3 separate regions of the Homo sapiens genome follow, and regions 2 and 3 are each linked to region 1. Evidence: promoter capture Hi-C in 16 types of primary human blood cells and fetal thymus (Javierre and others, 2016). All regions are on one chromosome and are shown on one strand. Each heading gives the region's core, a stretch centred on a gene start or on the middle of the fragment in contact. The rest is flanking DNA. Distances are from core to core; before and after follow the strand shown. Region 1 holds the start of CD1B (CD1b molecule). Region 2 has its middle 18 kb from the start of PYDC5. Region 3 overlaps IFI16 (interferon gamma inducible protein 16).

Evidence for each region. Contacts are between HindIII fragments. The CHiCAGO score rates a contact against its expected background, and 5 or more counts as called.
Region 2: a fragment that was not itself captured here is called in contact with the fragment with the promoter of CD1B in region 1 in 6 of 17 cell types (total B cells, fetal thymus, M2 macrophages and 3 more); the score reaches 6.1 in total B cells.
Region 3: a contact is called between a fragment that was not itself captured here and the fragment with the promoter of CD1B in region 1, in 1 of 17 cell types (fetal thymus). The highest score is 24.7, in fetal thymus.

What each region holds. Positions count from the first base shown.
Region 1 is chr1:158,329,802-158,332,944 of GRCh38, reverse strand. CD1B (CD1b molecule) reads left to right here and starts at 1,414. Exons shown (of 6, transcript NM_001764.3): 1 at 1,414-1,582; 2 at 1,883-2,149; 3 at 2,815-3,093. The coding sequence starts at 1,522. The HindIII fragment of the contact is 309 bases long and covers 1,153-1,461 here.
Region 2 is chr1:158,983,139-158,986,475 of GRCh38, reverse strand. It overlaps a transcript of PYHIN1 not described here. Among named protein-coding and RNA genes, the nearest start is that of PYDC5, 18 kb to the left of the region's middle. The HindIII fragment of the contact is 1,925 bases long and covers 1,066-2,990 here.
Region 3 is chr1:159,015,991-159,018,962 of GRCh38, reverse strand. It overlaps IFI16 (interferon gamma inducible protein 16), which reads right to left. Exons shown (of 12, transcript NM_001376587.1): 4 at 2,263-2,430; 5 at 312-734. Among named protein-coding and RNA genes, the nearest start is that of IFI16, 7.6 kb to the right of the region's middle. RefSeq lists an enhancer at 2,747-2,972. The HindIII fragment of the contact is 2,618 bases long and covers 355-2,972 here.

The DNA.
Region 1 (3,143 bases), core at 165-2,664:
ACACAAAAATAGTAATGTTCATGTCTGTGACAGCCAATGTTAAGTCTCTGCTGTTGTCTATGGCTGTTATCCAAAAAGTAGATTCAATTCTGTCATGTATTGGAGTCTGGGAATGTTGTTAAGAGATACATACATTGAAATTTGGAGAGCTGCTCTGTATTTATCAATTAGGCAGTAATAATCTTGGATGAAGGCTAGTCTTATTAATGTTGTGAACCAGTCTTATTAATGTTGTGAACCAGTAGTGTCCCCAGGAATAGAGAACACTACACTACTCACTTTGCATTTTCTTATCCACATAATAGAATTAGTTAGTGATAACCCTCTTTACTCGGAATCGATTGCTGCCACATTTCTGCATGATACATAGATCTCTGCAAATATGTGATTTTTTTCCTAAATGGAGAAAATCCAAAAATTCTTCTTAAAATTTTTCATGGGCATACAAGAAGATAGGAGGTGACATCTTAAAACAAGTATCTCTGAACTTTTTGTATAAAAAAAAGCAACCTCTTTGCTCTATTATTAATACCACATGTGGTGATATGAATGCCCAAATGTAGACAGCAGTTATGAGATATTACAAGAGAAGAAAAAAGCTCTGCCGCTTATGGCAACTTACCCAAAAAGTTATCTTTGACTTAGGCTGGAGGTGCACATAGCATAGCTCCTAGAGTTCTGTTTATGTCATGAATATTTGTTACTCAAAACTCCATAGGCCAAGAGCTCCTGAAGAGAAGGTCACATGCTAGCAGCAATTGTCATTTTTTCCCTCAAATATTGCTATAGTATAATTTTGTTTGAATTATAAACTTCAGTCTTTATTATATTTGATTCTGGCATTTTGGTTTGTAGTGCTATAGTACAGGAAATGTTTTAAATGCTTTGCCTTTATGTAAGTGAATATCGGTACACACACATACACATACACACACAGACACAGACACACACACACACACACTCACAGCCAGTTTAGAATGTGGGGTAAGGAACACCAGACAAAGAGGGCAATATAAGAAAGAGAAGACATTGAAAACATTGGGAAGAGGCAGTAACAGAGTGCCAGAGAAGATAAGGCAGCTGGGAGGGGGAGAAACTAAGTGAGGTGGATAAACTAAAAGCATCCTTCTGGGTTAAAGCAGACTAAAAGCTTAGCAATTGCTTAATATCACCATCTTATCCTATAGATGTGGGAATAAAGGCTAAGGAAGGAGAAATGAAAATGCAGAATCATATGGGGGCTTTTCCAAGGAGGTATGAAGGAAGGTGAGGACAGGGAGAGCGGCTGGAAGTCAGGGGGTAAGAGAAACTCTAAAAATCAGGGCTTGAGGGAAATAAAAGGTGAGGTAAGAGGCTCAGGGCTGTGGGAGGCACATTTTTCTCTGAAAAGCAGTTTGGATGAGGAAGAGATTTGGCAGTTGGAAGAGAGAAGAAGTCACTACAGGGTACTGAGGAAAAGCTTTGCTGAAATTGGAGATCAAATACCAGCTCTGCCAGTAAGAAGTTGCATCTCCCAGTGAAATGCTGCTGCTGCCATTTCAACTGTTAGCTGTTCTCTTTCCTGGTGGTAACAGTGAACATGGTAAGAGTCACTCTGGCAGCTCCCAGCACTGGTGCAGGGGTTTGGATTTTAAAAAGCAAGCAGGGCTTTCCTAGGTGCAATTGGACACTAAGGGTCTGGGTCTTTCTGTCTCCCGCCCTCTTCAACCATTCTGGTGGTTGGGACTAGAACCTGAAGCCTTAAGGCAGTCAAATGTGTCAGACTTCCTGTGTTCTTTAGACTCTAGGTTCTTGTTTTCTAAATCATTTTCATTCCCATTCTTCCTAATTGTCTCCTGCTTCTCTCTTTATCTTCACCATCTTGCTTTTCCACTCTTCACAGCCTTCCAGGGGCCGACCTCCTTTCATGTTATCCAGACCTCGTCCTTTACCAATAGTACCTGGGCACAAACTCAAGGCTCAGGCTGGTTGGATGATTTGCAGATTCATGGCTGGGATAGCGACTCAGGCACTGCCATATTCCTGAAGCCTTGGTCTAAAGGTAACTTTAGTGATAAGGAGGTTGCTGAGTTAGAGGAGATATTCCGAGTCTACATCTTTGGATTCGCTCGAGAAGTACAAGACTTTGCCGGTGATTTCCAGATGAAATGTGAGTCTAGTCCACCGAACTGGGAAGAGTCTCAAGGACTCTCTTTTCTCTCTTTTTTGCAAAGTGTTGCTCTCTCTGATGCTTCTCCCTTCCTTTCTATTTTACCCAAATGCACGCACATGCTTTTCTTGAGTAGTCTCTCACTCCAGCTTCACACCATCACACCTCATATTTCAGATTCTTGCTGCCTCTGCACTCTTCTCTTACTCTCAGACTGTCTTCCACTTTGTAACCAGCTGCTGGTTTGTCTTATGTGAAACTTCTCCTCAAGGGCCCTTACTTCTCCTACCCTGTGCCTGAGTGATCTAACGTGTGGCTTTCTCCCCTAATCCATCTTTTCAATCATCTCCTCCCCGCACCCTCCTCTTGCTGGGAACCTCCACTCACTCTGGAATGCTGCACTCCTGACTGCACCACGCTCTGCCTCACCTCTCCTTTCATACTCACTGTACTCCTTTATCACATACCTTTGTCTTCATGGCATGCACATTTTTCTCAATGCTCTTGTTTCTGAAAATGTCTAAATGTTATCATTAGTTTTTAGCTCATCATCATTTTACACCAAATAACTTTATCCCCACCAAAATCTAAAATCCTAGGTTCTTTTCTCATGCCTTTTTTTCTTATTTGTGTTTAATAACTTGCTCTCTTTTCCCTCTACATAGACCCCTTTGAGATCCAGGGCATAGCAGGCTGTGAGCTACATTCTGGAGGTGCCATAGTAAGCTTCCTGAGGGGAGCTCTAGGAGGATTGGATTTCCTGAGTGTCAAGAATGCTTCATGTGTGCCTTCCCCAGAAGGTGGCAGCAGGGCACAGAAATTCTGTGCACTAATCATACAATATCAAGGTATCATGGAAACTGTGAGAATTCTCCTCTATGAAACCTGCCCCCGATATCTCTTGGGCGTCCTCAATGCAGGAAAAGCAGATCTGCAAAGACAAGGTTAGTCCTGCTGTTATTTCACTTCCCACCACCTCCTCTAAGATCAAGAG
Region 2 (3,337 bases), core at 779-3,278, 650 kb before region 1:
GTGCAGCAGGTCCTTTACCTCAAGTGGTCAGAAAAAAAGGTGTTGGCCTAGTTTCAGACCCCTAGGGGTAGAGCACACAGCCTAACAGTGCTGAGCTGATCCTTGGACCCATGAAATTATCCAGAAACAAAGCCGATCAACTAAACCCAACTTATAGCACAGCTAGACACTCAAGGACATCAAAGAATATAAAATAAAAGAGCCCCATCCAAAGAACAGCAACTGCAAAGACTAGCAAAATATTAGCCCACACAGATGGGAAAGAACCAGTGCAAGAACTCTGGCACTGTAGAAACCAGAGTGTCTTACCTCCAAACTACCATGCTACCTACCCAGCAAAGTCTAGATGGCAATGAAGATTCTTGAAATATAGGAGAAAGCAGAAACCCAATCAAAGGAATCTAAGAAATCCAATAAAATAATACAAAAGCTTAAAGATAAAATAGCCATTTTAAGAAAGAACCAAACTAACCTACTAGAGCTGAAAACTCACTACAAAAATTTCATAATATAATTGGAAGTACTAACAGCAGAAGCTGAGGAAAGCTGAGGAAAGAAATCTCAGAGCTTGAAGATCAGTTCTTCAAATCAACTCAGTCAGATAAAAATAAAGGAAAAAATAATAAAATATGAACGAAACTTCAAGAAATATGAGTTTATGTAAAGAGACCAAACCTACAACTGATTTGCATCACAGAAAGAGAGGGAGAGAGACCAAGCAACTTGGAGAACATATTTGAAGATATTGTCCCTGAAAATTTACCTGACCTTGCTAGAGAGGTTGACATGTAAATTCAGGAAATTCAGAGTACCCCAGCAAGATATTACACAAGATGACAATCCCTAAGACACATAGTTATCCAATTCTCCAAGATCAAGGTAAATAAAACATATGAAAGGCAGCAAAAGAGAAGAGGCAGATCATGTACAAAGGGAACCCTTATCACACTAACAGTGGACCTTTCAGCAGAAATTTTTCAAGCCAGAAAAGATTAAAGGCCTACATTCAGCATTCTTAAACAAAAGAAATTCTAACCATGATTTCATATCCAGCCGAACCAAGCTTTGTAAGTGAAAAAGAAACATAATCCTTTTCAGACAAACAAACACTAAGCGAATTTGTTACCATTAGGCCTGCCTTATAAGAGGTCCTTCAGGGAGTGCTGAACATGGAAACAAAAGGCTGCTACCTGCCACAAAACAACACACTTAAGTAAATATTCCACTGACACAATATGCAACTATACAATCAAGTCTACATAACAACCAGCTAATAACACTATGACAGGATCAAATCCTTACATATCAATATTAACCTTGAACATAAGCAGGCTAACCACTCCACTTAAAAGGCACAGAATGGTAAGTTGGATAAAGAAGCAAGACTCAATTACATGCTGTCTTCAAGAGACCCACCTTACATGTAAAGACACAGGCTTAAATTAAATGGATGGAGGAATATCTATAAAGCAAATGGAAAACAAACAAAATAGAGCAGGGGTTGCTCTTTTATTTCAGGAAAAAAAAAACAGACCTTAAACCAAAAGCTATCAAAGAGGATGAAGAAGGGCATCACATAATGATAAAAAGTTCAATTCTACAAACAAGACTTAACTATCCTAAAGATGTGTGCATTCAGCACTGGCACAACCAGATTCATAAAACAAGTTCTTAGAGACCTATGAAGAGAACTAGCTAACCTCACAATAATAGTGGGAGAATACAACACCCTACTAACATTGTTAGATAAATCATTGAGGGAGAAAACTAACAAAGATATTCAGGAACAAAATTTCACACTTGACTAAATTGACCTAACAGACATATAAGGAACATTCCACTCAACAACAGAATATACATTCTTCTCATCTGCACATGGCACATACTCTGTGCCACATGCTTGGCCACATGCTTGGCCATAAAGCAATGCTCAGGAAATTCAAAAAACAGAAATTATATCAACCACACTCTCAGATCACAGTGCAACAAAAATACAAATCAATACCAAGAAGATCTCTGAAAATCATAGAAGTATTTGGAAATTAAACAACTTACTCCTGAATGACTTTTGGGTAATAAATTAAATTAATGCAGAAATCAAGAAATCTTTGAAACTAATGAAAACAAAAATACAATATATCAGAGTCTCTGGGACACAGCTAAAGCAGTGTTAAGAGAAAAGTTTATAGCACTAAAGGCCTACATCAAAAAGTCAGAAATATCTTAAATTTATACCTAACATCACATTTACAGGAACTAGAAAAAACAAAAGGAAACCAACCCCCAAACTAGCAGAAGAAAAATAATAATCAAAATCTAAGTTGAACCAAATAAAATTGAGATGTGAAAATTCACAAAAATAATTAAGAAAACTAAAAATTGGTTTTTTGAAAGAATAAGATATATAGACCACTAGCCAGATTAATATACAAAAAAAAAAAAAAAAACAGGAGAAGATCCAAATAAATACAATTAGAAATGACAAAGGGGACATTACCATGGAACCCACAGAAATACAAAAACTCTCAAAGACCATTATGAACAATTTCTATGCTGAAAAACTAGAAAATCTAGAAGAAACAGATAAATTCCTGAAAACATACAACCTGCCAAGATTGAACCAGGAAGACATTGAATACCTAAACAGATCAATAACAAGTTCTGAAATTGAATCCATAATAAAATACCTACAAACCAACAAAAGCCATGGATCAGACAGATTCACATCTGAATTCTACCTGATAGATAAGGAGGAGCTGATACCAATCCTACCAAAATTATTCCAAAATATTGAGGAGCGGAGACTCTGCCCTGAATCATTCTATGAGGTCAGCATTATTCTGATACCAAAACCTGACAGAAACACAAAGGAAAAACAAATTCAGGACAATATGCCTGATAAATATTGATGCAAAAGTCCTCAAAAAAAAATACTAGCAAACTAAATCCAGCAGCACAGCAAAAGCTAAGCCACCATGATCAAGTAAGCTTTACCCCTGGAATGCAAAGTTGGTTCAACATACGCAAATTGGTAAATGTGATTTATCACATAAACAGAACTAAAAACAAAAATCACGTGATTATCTAAATAGATGCAGAAAAGGTTTCAATAAATTCAACATTCTTTCATGTTAAAAACCCTCAACAAACTAGGTATCAAAGGAACATACCTCAAAATGAGACATCTATGACAAAACCACAGCCAACATCATATCACAAATAGGCAAAAGCTGAAATCATACCTCTTGAGAACCAGAACAAGACAAAGTTGCCTACTCTCACTACTCCTGGTTCAACATAGCACTGGAAGTTCTAGCCAGAGCAGTCAGGCAAGAGA
Region 3 (2,972 bases), core at 414-2,913, 690 kb before region 1:
GATGTAGACCTCACAATGTCCTTGATCACTTAGCATAGATAATAACAACTGATAAAGTCTTAAGGTTTCTCAGTGAACATTATTGTAAAGACTACAGTTTAATGCTCTGGGAAGGAGAACATGGGAAAGAAATATTAACAGGTCCCCTAATCCCAGTCTTATCTTCAGAGAAGTCTTTATCCACCTGTCATTAGTCTTCAGAGTCCTGGATTCTAATATCCAGTTTATAGGCAAAGCTTCATCTCACACATCAAGACTTTTAATTTCAGGTGTTGGTGGAAAAATGAAACGAAACAATTTTGAGGACTTACCTTATGTAGCATAAATACCCCATATACAATATTTCCTGAAGCTTGTTTGTGAAGAATATCAATCTTCAGAGTTTCCTTTGCTCTGTTGATGATTTTATTTGGAACCTCAAACGTTTGGTTAGGACCAGCTTCAGATACAGTAGATTCTTCATTGACCTCTAGGAGACTATCATATTCCAAATAATCTGATATGATGATGATTTTCTTTCCATTGAATTTCTCCTTCAAGCTGGTGTTTAAAACCTTCACATGGAAGAACTGTGTCTGTGTAGCCACTGTAGCATGAAACATTATTTTTTTCTCCATTTCTGGGGTCTCATATTCAAATGGCTTTGTTGTACTCAGTACCTTCACTATCACTGGGCGTTTTTGGAGAACATTTCTTCTGGGAGTTACCTGACATTTGGCCACTGTTTTCGGGTTCTGTGTATGATAGCACAGGAGAACAAAGAAAAATGTCTAATTGAGAAATACAGAACTGCTATTCAGTGACCTCAGTATAACACAGGGCCCCAAAACTTGCACAGATGTTTAGAGCTGGAGTCAGGATAGAGAGGGATTGCGAGCCAGGGCAGAAGATATCTTAAACTGGTACAATAGCAAGATGAAGTAACAGAGGAGACCATATAGTGAAAAGATGACCTTTCTGTAAACAGAATCAACCTTAAGAAATAAAGCATAAGAGCAACATAAGACCAGTGGATACTGAAAGCCAGTGTCATGAAGTAACTTAATAAATTTTAGGGCCAGGCGCGGTGGCTCACACCTGTAATCTCAGCACTTTGAAACGCCGAGGCGGGTGGATCACCTGAGATCAGGAGTTTGAGACCAGCCTGGCCAACATGGTGAAACCCTGGCACTACTAAAAGTACAAAAATCAGCTGAGTGTAGTGGCAGGCGCTTGTAATCCCAGCTACCTGGGAGGCTGAGGCAGGAGAATCACTTGAACCCGGGAGGTGGAGGCTGCAGTGAGCCGAGATTATGCCACGGCACTTCAGCCTGGGTGACAGAGCGAGACTCTGTCTCAACAACAACAACAACAACAATAAATAAATAAATAAATTTTAGAATGAAATAATTTCTTATACTATTTCTCTTACCAGCTTAAAGTGCCAGAGCCTAAAAATAGACAAAGTTAAATGACATTTAAAATGATCAATAAATACTAAAAAAAAATAAAAATAAAAAAAAAATGAAAAATGGTGCCCACCACAAACTATAGACACAAAGAGTGTTCAGTTATCACCAGTGTAGACAGGGCAATTTAAAGAGCACATTTCATAGTGTTCCTACCCAAGATTCAGTTTGCTTACAGCAGGTGAGAACACAAGTAGGATAAACCCCTCAGAATGCCATCATCTCAGTAGGTTCAGGCTGCAGAAACTCTACAGAGTGTCATTCCCACCACCATAGCCTTTCTCAGTGTCAGGGCTCTAGCAGGTAGCATGCTAACAGAAACCTGGGGCTCAGAAAGGGTTTTCTTTAACATCTTTACTCTTTAACATCCCAGTCTCCTTAAACTGCGATAGAACAGTTTTAATGCAGGGGAGGTTGTTTAATCTACAAGAAAAAGAGCTGAGGGTATGGATAACCTCATTCACAAACTAGCAGGTGCTGGAGAGGTCTGACATGGAATACTATAGTGAACCAAGGGAAGAGGTATGAAGGACATGGGAGCAGTAGACAGTGAGCCCACAGCTGACAGTTCTGTACTGCATAGCTCTCTCTCCCTTCCCCAAACAACACAGAACAGAAAACTTCCTGCAGTCAGAGATAATGTCAAGTTCATCAAGTATCCCTGTGAAAGCAAAAGATCAAAATGTAGTGGTTTCTCAATATGTACATTGGATTAACTAGCAAATTATCGATGCAATTTTTAAGTAACCGGTGAAATCAGTCCTTTACTTTGGGTTGAAAAAAACAAAGCAAAATGGGACCAGGAAGAGTGTACCTCAGTTGAAGAACTGTTGGGTGGAGCTGACAATGAGGTCTTGGGAGATGGGGAACGGCCCATGGCTGTGGACATGCCGGCTCCTGCAGGAGAGGGAGGCTGAGTCTGTTCCTCGGACACCTTACTCCCTTTGGGTCCAGCCTTTTCTTTGGTTGATTTTTTTCTTTTCTGAAAGTGGTTTGATTTTCCTGTTATTCGTTTTCAGTGCCAAATGAAGTAGAGCACATTTTCATTATTGGATAGTAGTTTTATTATTCCTAAGAAGATGTTTCTTGGAAACTTGAGAGGTTGCTGCCCATCTCTCGCCAGTTTAAGAGATGGGCATAGATGGTTTCATTAAACGAAGAAAGAGGAGAATGTTATACACATTATTTCTCTAATTATTTCTGTTATGGGATGTGCTGACTTGGGATTAGAGAAACTAGGTTTTTATACACATGGACAAAGTACTTACCTGATTCTCACGTTGACACTCCACTCTACTAGAATGAAGGTATCACATTTATGTTATATATATTTACATTATGTTTACTCATGTGTTTGGTGCATTGCTTTGAGCATCAATAAGATGATCAATTATCATACAATTTGGTAAATCTGAAACTTGATGGGAAACATGAAGAAATAACTGCCTGCTGGAGAGATTGAGTGGAAGAGCCGTAGCAGAGCTTCCTCTGTGGGACTTGAAGCCTGCTCCTCTTCCTGAAGCT